4 separate regions of the Homo sapiens genome follow, and regions 2, 3 and 4 are each linked to region 1. The links are contacts of gene promoters, found by promoter capture Hi-C in blood cells and fetal thymus (Javierre and others, 2016). All regions are on one chromosome and are shown on one strand. The core of a region is centred on a gene start or on the middle of the fragment in contact, and the rest is flanking DNA. Distances in the headings are between cores, read along the strand shown. Region 1 holds the start of NEIL2 (nei like DNA glycosylase 2). Region 2 overlaps MTMR9 (myotubularin related protein 9). Region 3 overlaps FAM167A-AS1 (FAM167A antisense RNA 1). Region 4 overlaps FAM167A (family with sequence similarity 167 member A).

Region 1 (2,779 bases), core at 134-2,633:
GCAGGGGCATCCTGGGGGTGGGGGGGTCGTTATTCTCCAGAAAAGGCCGGACATAGAAAGAGGGGGACCAGAGGCTCTTCAAGGGATGCCTCCTGCAAACCCCATGCCCTCCAACCTCATCCCCTCTGCCTCCAGATGCCTTTCTAGATGAGGACCCTATACCCTAGGCCTCCCCAGGCCTCCCTCTCCTCACCTCCTGCCCTAGCCTGTTCAGTAGGTGACCACTGTGGGAAGGCCACTTGTAACCTCCCTCTCAATCAGTAGGACACAACCATGTCTCTGACGGTGGGCTGGGCTTGTTTCCCTGTGCTGACCAAGTCCTTCCCCAGGGACCCCTCAGCTAGGGTCCATGGTGACTTCACCCCAGCCTATTTCCTGAACACCTGCTGGGGAGTTCCCCAGACTTTCCTCCCAACTTCCTGGAAAGTGCTGGCTCCCCATCCTCCTTCGAGAACTAAAGACAAGAAAACATATGTATCTTTAAACAGCCTATTGTTTTATCTCTTTTATTCTATGAAATAAAAAATTTAATACACAAATACTTTAAGCAAAATTTGCTTATAGTAAAAATTCAAGTAATAAAATTCAAATAATAGAAAGCAAAAAAATCCCACCCGTTCAACATTTCACGAGTCTTGAACACCTGTTTCCTTTGCACCCGACTTCATTAGGCTCGGAGGCCAAGCAGAACCCACAGAAAGGCTTGCCATTGTGGGAACACCCAGGCTGTCCCATTCACACACCCATTGACTTTTCCCTATAACTGTCTCCTTGAGACAAGAAATGTTCCAAAAGGGCCGGGTGCGGTGGCTCACGCCTGTAATCCCACCACTTTGGGAGGCCGAGGAGGGCGGCTCACCTGAGATCAGGAGTTCAAGACCAGCCTGGCCAACATGGTGAAACCCGGTCTCTACTAAAAATACAAAAATTAGCCGGGCGCCAGTAATCCCAGCTACTCGGGAGGCTGAGGCAGGAGAATGGCTTAAGCCCAGGAGGCGGAGGTTGCAGTGAGCCGAGATCGCGCCACTGCACTCCAGCCTGGGTGACACAGCGAGACTATCTCCCCCCGCAAAAAAAAAAAGTTTCCAAGAGCGTCTCTCCAATGTTAGTCCCAGCCTGCACCCTTCTTCCATCCCTGCTTTCACTCGCGACCCTCTAATGCAGCCCTGCCTCCAGCGACCCCCGGGATGGAACCCCTCGCCCACCCACAAAAGAGCAGCCTCGACCTAGACCCACTTTCCAGGGAATGAGCCCTGCGCCTGCGCGCACCCCGCCACCCCCTCCAGGCCGGAGTCCACGCCCACTTGGGGGAGGAGCCCCGCAGCCTCCACCTACAGGGGCGTCCCCTAAGGGGACGGAGGCCGCATGGGCCGCCGAGCCGGGAAATCTCCGCCCCCAGCTGGAGCGGCTGTGCGGGCTGCGTAGCGGTGCTGGGTCGGGCCGACGTGCCACCCACCCGGAGCCGGTGAGTGCAGCCGCCCGCCCTCCGGTAGATCTGCGGCCTGGCGGAGAAGTCGGGAGGGGACAGGAAGGGAGGGCGGGCCCCGGGCCCTCCTCCGTCTCAGCCGCCTGCGGAGGTGCTGCCCACGCCTGGAGGCCCCCACTGACCCTCAGACCCGCGTCTGCGCCCCTCTCCCCGCACCCCGAGGCAGAGTTGGGAAAGCAGTGGTCTTAGACCCCCCACCTCGGGCACTCGGAAGAGAACGGCGGAGACAACCCCTCCTCTTCCCTGGCTGGCGCAGCGCCAGCCTCGAGCTCCTCGGTAGCCCCCGGGCAGGGAGGGCCGGAGGGTGGGCGCGGCATCTTCAGCGACTCTTCGAAGTCCCTTCCGCGTCTCATCTTTCAAGGCTGTTGCAGAGGCGGCTTGCTTCCCACCTGTCCATCTCCATAAAAATCCCTAAACGAAACATGCCCACGTGTCCGGAGATTTTCAGGACTTGGTGCATTTCAGATGAAGGCTTTTCCAGAAGCTTCCCCGTAGAAGAGGATCAGGCATCCAACTGGTTAAGGTCAGCAGCGTTTGGCACGTCTCCTTCCAGCCTGGCGGTTTTGTCAGGATTCCCTGGGGAGTGTCTGGAAAGCCTGATGAGGGGAAATAGTACATCTCAGCGAATCGGCACCAGCGAGTGTAAGATGCGCGTTATTGAATGTGCTGCTGCCGAATATGAGAATGCCGAGATTGTGAGCCGTCACCATTTCTTAGATTTTAAAAGTATTCTAAAATGTTTTTTAGAATCACTGAAATATAATAGCTACCCCCTGCCCGATATCTACTTAGTTCTTTTCGATTTTCATCATAACTTATAGAGAGGCTGGTGCAGGAACAGGTGGTTAGGCAGCTGCCCCGGGTGAGGCTGGGAGTCTCCTCTGCCCGAACAGCCCGGGTGTACACCACTCAGACTGCCTCATGTAGGCGGCTGTCAGTGGACTGGGATGATTTGGGGGCAGGGAGAGTAGAGGTGGCCCTGGGAGCCCTGCGTGGTGATTAGAACAGAACCACAGCTGTTTCTCGGGGATCAGAGATAACTGTCTGTAGCTATGCCGGGCTTACCTACGTGGCTGGGGGTCTCACTTATGATTCTGAGCTCTGTCTGCGTGTTGGTCGTTTCATGCACACCTCCCCCACGCTAGTGGTCGGCGGTCCTGGAGGGCGGCATCTGGTCCCTTCAAAAGTGGGAAATAAGTCGGCAGCAGTGGGTCAGAATGGCTGTTTTTTGAGAGCGGGAGCAGGGGGACAGAGAAAGTCAGGAGGTGTTAGAGGTTCACAGTCCAGGCAAAA
Region 2 (2,779 bases), core at 81-2,580, 470 kb before region 1:
ATCATAGTGAAAGTTCAAGAAATAACAGTATTATCATGTTGTTTAGAAATGTAAAGGTAAACACTGAAAAAGCTAAAAATGTTGAAAATGATTGCCTTTGGGGAAAGCAAATTGGGATGGGCTAGCAAGGAACAGATAACTACATTTTTTTAAAAATAATAAATCTTTAGAAACTGTGTTTTTTTTAAATTAATTAATTAATTATTTTTTGAAACAATCTCACTCCAGTTGCCCAGGCTGGAGTGCAGTGGCGCTGTCACAGCTCACTGTGGCCTCGACTTCCTGGGCTCCCGTGATTCTTTCACCTCAGCATCCTAAGTAGCTGGAAATACAAGTGTGTGCCACTGTGCCTGGCTAATTTTTGCATTTTTAGTGGATATGGGGTTTGGCCATGTTGCCCTGGCTGGTCTTGAACTCCTGAACTCAAGCAATTTGCCTGCCTTGGCCTCCCAAAGTGCCGGGATGATAGGTGTGAACCACTGTGCCCAGCCTAGAAACTATGTTTTTAAACTGGTAACATAAATAACTTTGAAAAGTGAAAAAATTTAATTAAAAATGTGATACTGTATCTTATAAAAGCATTTTTTAAAAGTAATAATCTTGTCTGTTAGTACGTCTAACATACTTTTTAGCTTTATCTTCCTGCTATTGTAACCCATGGTTAGGCCAACTCAGATATACAGAACATATTGAAATTTACATATAATTTGATTTTTTTTTTTTACTGTAAAACCTTTTGACAGTGTTCAAGCTGTTTTTAATTCTGATGTTTAAAATAAGTTGTCATTTGATAGTTTTATATTGTATACTTCTAGTCCTTACTCAGTTTGAAATTATTTCATTGACTCCTAAGCTTAACCTTCCTTAGTATTGAGTTGGTACTGTTTTAAGAAAGGTGTTACCAATCTTAGTACATTTTTTACCTTTTTTAAAATAAACAAAGGGTTTGATATAGATAGTAGCTGTGTTCTCATTTGTTCTGGGGATGCATTATCTGGAGTCGTACAGTCTTACTTGTGCTTTAAGAGGATCATTAACAAACTAAATGGGACCCAGAAAAGGAAGAAGTAGGATGATGTTGGCCGTGATAATTGTGGATGTGCTTAATATATTTAACTTGGAGAATAGAACACTAAGGAGGATCAGCTGTCTTTCAAACATTTGATGGGATACCGTGTAAAATAGGGAACTTGTACGGTGTTGTCTGAAAGTACAGTAAAAACCAATAGAGGGAGCTACAGAGCAACAAGTTTTGCTCAGTGTGAGAAAGCACTTTCTGGGAACTGGTGATACCTAGCAATGCAGGAAGCTGGCCCTGAACCATAGAGCTCCTTTTCTCTGCAGCTACTTACATATAAGCTAGAGATCCACCTGTGAAATTCCTGAGAAATGGCTTCTTCATCAGTGAAAGTTGACCTCTAAGGTCTTTTAAAATTTCTCAGATTATTTTGCGACATTGAGATAGTTGCTTAGCTTTGAAGTATTTTGTGTTTTTCAGACCAGTGAATGGAGGCTAAGCTATGTCAATAAGGAATTTGCTGTCTGTCCCTCTTACCCACCAATTGTCACAGTGCCCAAATCCATCGATGATGAAGCTCTTCGGAAGGTAGCTACATTTCGACATGGAGGGCGCTTCCCAGTACTAAGCTATTACCACAAAAAAAATGGGATGGTAAGTGCACAGCACTACTGCTTGATGTACTGAAAGGCTTGGGTTGGGGATCTTTTCGTAGAAATGTTCCCTTTTGCTCTCTGTCTGTTCACTGAAATGATTGTCCAGGTCTCCACCACAAGGGCTTCCTTCATGTAAGCTTTAGGGAATCAGGAGTAGGGTGTTTTCTGTGGTGAGGATGTGATGCTGAATTCTTTCCATGATCCTGCTCAGCCGTATAAAAGCCCTGATAGCTTTATCTCCAGGACACTATACAAAGGAAACTAGTGTTTATTTGATGCTTACAGCAACATTCTTCTGGTAGAAAAATGAGAAATTTCTCTGTTCAGAATAATGGTAAAATACTTGAATTTTTCTTAACAACTTTACACGTGAAAGGTGGAGCAGACGTATTTATTTTCAAAGGTGAAAAGAGTGATGCTCATGTCATTTAGTCACAACTCTAGTAAACACTGGAGTCAGGATTAAACAAGGAGTTAAGATAACTACCTTGTAATGGTGGCGTCTTGAAAGAACTCTAAACCATTCGCCAGGGAAGAGATTAGTATAATAGACATTGATTTCTAGAGAAAAGTTTCAAAAGCAAACATTTCCAGATGTATAGTTGGTGGGGTAGTTTTTAGAAACAAGTAGTTAAATCCTTGAATACTGAAAAGGATGGTAGAGGCCACTGGAGAATACATAATAGACAGTCAGCTTCTGAGGTAGTGAAAATGATTTCCCAAACAATGAGAACAGTGTTTGAACTTTTAAATTTTGCCACTGGTGCCTTTACTTCTTATAATTGTTGTTAAAACCTGCCAACTCTATGTATGTTTAGTTGAAGTCAAGGTTTACTGGCTCATAGGCCATTATTGTCTTTATTACAGGTCCAGGTCTACAGGTATTTGATTCACACACTAAATGAATTGCAATATTTGATCTTAAAGAGGAGATATAATTTATTATGTGACAGTATTTTGAGACAGAGAAATTGTGTAAAAGCTTAAGGCTTATCTTTTATAGTTATTAACTATTGTCAATACATGCAAATATTTCTTTGTTTATGGATCAAATCCATCTGCAGAGTGTCACACAATTGTTTTTGAGATACTCTTAATCTAGCTA
Region 3 (2,779 bases), core at 77-2,576, 380 kb before region 1:
AAACTGAATATTTCTAAAATTCCCAGAAAATAAGAAAATTGAATTTCTAATACCAATTCAGAAACCAAGTTCACATAATTAAGATTAATCTTTGGCAAACTAGACTAGTTTAATAATTTTGATTCAGGCTGTGTGGGGGCTAACGCCTGTAATCCCAGCACTTTGGGAGGCCAAGGCGGGTGGATCATCTGAGGTCAGGAGTTGGAGACCAGCCTGGCCAACATGGTGAAACCCTGTATCTATTACAAATACAAAAATTAGCCAGGCGTGGTGGTGCGCACCTGTAATCCCAGTTACTCGGGAGGCTGAGGCAGGAGAATCACTTGAACCCAGGAGGCGGAGGTTGCAGTGAGCTGAGGTCGTGCCACTGCACTCCAGCCTGTGTAACAGAGCAAGACTCTGTCTCAAAATATTATTAATAATAATTTTGATTAAAAAATTGCCACGTTACTTCTCCTATTTATCGATGTATATAACACAAGCATGCATTTTATTTGGTTTGTCTTTCCTAAACTCGTACAAGCTTACTCATCAAATAAGCGATTACTTAATGTTACATAATGTTGAGGATCATTAAACCAGGAAATTTGTGCTCAACTAAATTCATTCGTTATGGTGACAAACTTTTTCTTTCAACAGCAATTATATTTTGTAGCTGGAAGATACTTTTCTAGGTGTTTAGATGACTTAGAATTTGGGGCTGATATTAAGTTGAGTTAATGGATAATCACTGTATAGTTAGATGACCTCTAAATACTATCAAATGACAAAACATTGATTATGCAACATAATTTTAGGTTTATATGCAATTGCTTTTTATTTGTTGTGCTTTAGAGAGGCTGTATCTTGGGATCAGATGCATGACTGCTCATTTTTGAACTTTCAGAAGGCGTAAAAGGAATGTGTGTGGCTATAGAAGGTTGGTTATGAACTTTGCTATTCTGCTGAAATCTTTGTCTAAGATAAACAGTTCTCACTTCTCTACCCACCATTTTTCTCTGTGAAGTAGAAGACATTTTGGCTAGTAATGAAAATTAATATGGTTAAGATAAATCTGTATGAGTTAAAAAAATTAATATGGTAGTTGGAGCTATGCAAGGAGCAATAGTGAGAGAGAAACCCAACTGTGCCTGAGCTTTTGTTTTTCAAGGAAAAAGCATTTCTTTTGCTAAAGCAGTAATTATCAAACGTTTTGGGAGAGGCTTCCGTTCACAAAGGAGGAGCTCCCCATGTTTCTCATGGGAACTTGTCCAAGCGTATCTCTTACATAGCAAATCCCATCTTGCCACCCCTGCTCAGAGGCCCCAGATCCACATGCACCTTTCTTCCCAAGAAAGAAGACCTGTTGTCATTGTTTGCACACCTGCCGCCCATTGGACTGGATGCTCTCCTGATAGCCCTGTTTGCTCACCTCCATTCAAAACACATTTTCATTACTGAACCAGATGCCAGGAAAACAAGCATTTCATCTTCTATGAAAATTGTGTAGGGTCGTATTGGTTTTAGAGGATTGTTGTGAGACAGAAATGAAACAGTGCCAGTGAAACAGAGCAGATGTACATCAGTGTGGGTCCATTTGAAGTCTGGATGGACGGAGTGGCACCCCAGCCTCCTCAAGGAAGCCAGGACCCAAGAGTTGCCTTTCACTTTTGCCTCTCAAGGAACCTGATATAACCAACATGAAAAAAACACACTCAGAGCTCAAGAGGGCTGGCCCTTCCCAGGACAGATGCTGCAGAGACTGGATGCATTTTTTCCTGCCCAACCAACCTTGGCGACAGGTTGCTGGGCTCTCATTCATGAAGCTACCTGCCTGGGGAAATGAGTCAATCCAGTTATTAGCTCACCAAGGGCTTTTATTCTTGACAAGGTACTGATACCCTATCTACCTCCACTGCTTGGGAATAGCTGACTTGGACTTAAGTCTGTGGGAATCAAGATATCAGAATACCTAGAGAAGCTGGAGAAATGCACTCCCAACAAATGCCACCTCAGTGTCTGTCACAGCAGCCGTCTTTGAAAGTTGTCCGGCATCCTGACGGCCATGCACAGATTCCATCATGGTGCTTTAAAATTATTTACTAAAACCCACAGAGAAAAGAGGTAAGAAGATACTTCCATGTTATTCCCAAAGCTTCTTGTGAATAATCTTACTGAACCCCCACCGTGATCTTCCCCAGCTGGGTGATCAAGCCAGGACCACCTGAAAATGCTCTCCTAATGCCTGAGTCTATTGTTCAGGGACGTGGTGTCCTTTCTTCATTCCCTGGGCACTCTTAGAGAGATCATGCACCCTGCCTTTCTCTCCTCCTCAGTGTCGAACCTCAGGTAACATTTCTCCCAATTCCCACTCCTCTTCCTCCAGGGAATCAAAGGCCTTTTGCCAACTTTTAAAATCCAAACGCCCAACTGCACACTAGATGTTACATTTTTTTTTTTTTAGAGGAGAGGGTGCTGTCTTTTCATCAGATTCTCAAAGGGTCCCCTTCCACCCCAAAGGATAAAGAACCACGATGCTAAAGGATGTCCACCTAAAGGGCGACAGCTCTAGTGTGAGGGTACAAGCTTGCCATCTCACTCCCACCACCTGCCCAGGGCAGCAGGCCTGAGAGCAGGGCAGTCTTTGACAAGCCAGCAGTGCTCGTGCCAGAGGAAAACAGGGTGGGTCGTGCACCTGTGCTGGAGCAGTTACAGGCCCCACTTAGCTTATCGGCCGGCCGCTCTGCTCGGGTCTTGAGGCTCAGACCTTGTGAGCTGATAGCATCCTCCCTCTTTCCAG
Region 4 (2,779 bases), core at 81-2,580, 330 kb before region 1:
CAGGAAGAGTTAAGCTCTACCCCTGTGATCAGGCCTTTAATTTTTCAAACTTGGAAGGTGTGGGCCAAACTACACACCTTCAGGGGTGAGGCTGGCCTTTGGGAAGGACAGAGTGATGCATTCCGAAGAGCCCCTAGATCTGCCACTAGGGGCTCTGGGTTCCAGTCCTAGTGCAGCCTCTGATGACATGATGACTCTGGACAGGTGGCATGTGCCCTACACAGAGAGAGGATGCTGATCACCTTCCTCCCCTCCCATCAGATTGCATCTTGGAACTGAGGAGGTTCTGGAAGCTGTACACCCAAGGAAGACATTCTGTGCCGGAGAGAGAGTGGGAGAGATGTGACTGCTGCTGGCTGGGTGAGGACAGGCCCAGAGGACAGCATCACTGGCACCCACCCCTGCATTTGGGTCCTCTGCACCTCAGCTCCCAGCATCTGGGCCTCCTCCCTGCCTGCCTCCCCCCCTCACTCAATCTGTCTCCACTCAAGAGGCTGATGGGCAGGTCTCCCTGCTTCTTCAAATCTTTCAAAGGTATCACGGGACCCTCCTGTTCCCTTGACCTCTCCAGCCTCCTCTCCCACTCTGATGCCCTTGCCCCCACAGGGCAGCCACACTGAGGTTCTGTCCCCTCCCCTGTGGTCCCTTCTCCACCTGTCACCCTTCAGGACCAGCTCAGCCTTTGTCCCTCTCCCTGCAGAGGGGATGACAGCCCCATGGGCGCCTGCTACCACTGCCCCTCCATGCGGCCTCCACCATGGCACCCACGTGTTGGGCATTGGTTTCATTTTTTATCATGTGTCTAGATGACAAAACACCAGAGGAGAGACAGAGACTGGGGCCACCACAGTGCCTAGGGCATGCTCTGGTGCTCAAAAGCCATTTGTTAGATGAATGAATCAATGAATCAATCCGTTAGTTAAATTTCCCCAGAGCCAAGTCTTGATTTTCCACACTACATTACCCAGTACCTGTCTCCACGGCTGGGACAGTCCTGGAGACCTCACTCCTCCCTCTGCTACCCGGGCTGACCGCCACCCTCTGGGATCTCCCACTGCCCCCAGGCCTGTGGAGAGGCAGCCAGTAGAAAGGACAGAGGAGCAGCCCCTGGTTCAAAGTCCTTCTCTTCAACTTGCTGGTGACGCCACCCTGGGCAAGTCACCCCACACCTAAGCTTCAATTTCCTCATCTGCTACATGAGCATAATAGTACCCACTTACTGATAATAATTGACCGTAATTAAATGGGCACACACTACTGATCATTTATGAGAATTAAATAAGCCCATATCCACACACTTTGTACAGGACATCGAGTTCCGGAATTACTAGTTCCACCATATCCCGTCTTCATACACAGAACCACAGAGCAAACCATTCAGTTACGTTTTTACTTCCCATGTGGCGCTTGCCCCAGCTCCTGGGTGCCGGGTCCCTGCCAGAGCCTTTTTTGCTCCTCACAGCCTGGCTCAGGGCGGGTCCCCAGCCCAAGCTTCACCCACCTTTACTGAGCGCTCCCTTATCGCTGACAACTGTACTGCCTGTCACACGTCACCAAGCATGGTCCGGGGTTGGGTAGGGCTGTGTTATTGTCTCTATCACCAAGTGTTGCCAACGTCAAAGGGCTGGTAATGCCAATACACTTCAGACTGGAGATGCGGTGGGGACCCTCCCACTCAGGGGTGTCCTTAGCTTGCACATGAGGAGGGCCAGGCCCGCCACTAGGGGCCAAGGCCTTCCTCAACTTCCCTGCCACTCCCCTGGAGAGCAAGTGGGGGCCCTCGTGAGGCCAAGCAGCCAGTCCCAGGACTGCTGCCCCTGCCAGGCTGCGAGCATGGCCCAGGTACGGCTGTTCTTGCTGGGCCCCCGGCAAGACCTGCAGGAAGGGCTGGCTCCCTCACCTCTGTGAGCTCGGCCATGCTGCTGGGGGTCTCTGGGCCAGTCGGCGGAGGGAGAGAAGACACCCCCTAGCAGGGGCTGTCTCCCTGCTCCGACAGGAGCTCCCCTGCACGGCCTTCTCAATTCCACCTGCAGGAAGGCCTCCCCCATCTGCAGGCAGGAATTGGGGCTTGCATTACATGAAACTGGAAGCTTTAGCCAAGGTGATAACTGTCCTATGGAAATGGAGTGCCGAAGTGCCCTGGGGTCACCTGAGAGCCCTCAGAAGACCCCTGGGGCACAACTGTTGGGATTTCTGGGCTTTTCTTGGGTTCTCTATCCCCTGCTTTGGAAACAGATGTAGCGGGAGCTTCACATCTGATGCTGAGCGAGAACCAGCTAGGAAGGTGTCAGTAGGCTGCTAACCTCAAGGGAGGGAGAGCTGAGGACAGGACATGAGCTGCTGGAGTGGGGACCTGTGGGATTAAATAGGGCTCCCAGGCACCTGCAGTTGCTATAGATTCCTGCCTGCGCCTCCAAAGGGAAGTGAGGCAAATCTATTTTCTGCCCCAGCCTCCAGGCAAGTTTGAGGCTGTTTTGTTCTCCAAAGTCACTTCATACTCCATTACTCGGGTACCTGTCTTCTTGGGAAGAACATGCTTTGGGCTTCAGCTGCCAGGGGCCTCACAGTTTCCTATAGCATGGTGGGTGAATCCAGACCCACTGCAGGGCTTTGAGGTCGGGCAGATCTGAGTTCAAATTCCTGCTCTGCTGATTGATCTTGGGCAAGTTTTTTAACCTCAGTTTTCTCATCTGTGAAATGGGGATAGTAATCGTGCCTACCCGGAAAGATTGCTGTGGCTACTGAATGATGTGAGGCGTGTGTATAAACATGCGTAATA

The links. The method cuts DNA at HindIII sites, captures the fragments that hold promoters and counts their contacts. A CHiCAGO score of 5 or more calls a contact.
Region 2: a contact is called between a fragment that was not itself captured here and the fragment with the promoter of NEIL2 in region 1, in 1 of 17 cell types (total B cells). The highest score is 6.9, in total B cells.
Region 3: a fragment that was not itself captured here is called in contact with the fragment with the promoter of NEIL2 in region 1 in 1 of 17 cell types (naive B cells); the score reaches 6.0 in naive B cells.
Region 4: a fragment that was not itself captured here is called in contact with the fragment with the promoter of NEIL2 in region 1 in 1 of 17 cell types (naive B cells); the score reaches 5.2 in naive B cells.

Annotation. Positions count from the first base shown.
Region 1 is chr8:11,768,327-11,771,105 of GRCh38, forward strand. NEIL2 (nei like DNA glycosylase 2) reads left to right here and starts at 1,384. Exons shown (of 5, transcript NM_145043.4): 1 at 1,384-2,009. It overlaps LOC124901888 (a long non-coding RNA gene), which reads right to left. Exons shown (of 2, transcript XR_007060824.1): 1 at 2,552-2,779; 2 at 476-2,082. RefSeq lists silencers at 1,195-1,604, 1,645-1,774 and an enhancer at 1,534-2,034. The HindIII fragment of the contact is 12,492 bases long and covers 1-1,968 here.
Region 2 is chr8:11,303,343-11,306,121 of GRCh38, forward strand. MTMR9 (myotubularin related protein 9) reads left to right here. Exons shown (of 10, transcript NM_015458.4): 4 at 1,499-1,672. Among named protein-coding and RNA genes, the nearest start is that of MTMR9, 20 kb to the left of the region's middle. The HindIII fragment of the contact is 958 bases long and covers 852-1,809 here.
Region 3 is chr8:11,385,952-11,388,730 of GRCh38, forward strand. The region is part of intron 2 of FAM167A-AS1 (FAM167A antisense RNA 1); the gene reads left to right. Among named protein-coding and RNA genes, the nearest start is that of FAM167A-AS1, 19 kb to the left of the region's middle. The HindIII fragment of the contact is 1,611 bases long and covers 522-2,132 here.
Region 4 is chr8:11,434,569-11,437,347 of GRCh38, forward strand. The region is part of intron 2 of FAM167A (family with sequence similarity 167 member A); the gene reads right to left. FAM167A-AS1 (FAM167A antisense RNA 1) reads left to right here. Exons shown (of 7, transcript NR_026814.1): 5 at 262-534. Among named protein-coding and RNA genes, the nearest start is that of FAM167A, 31 kb to the right of the region's middle. RefSeq lists enhancers at 1,334-1,853, 1,854-2,373. The HindIII fragment of the contact is 317 bases long and covers 1,173-1,489 here.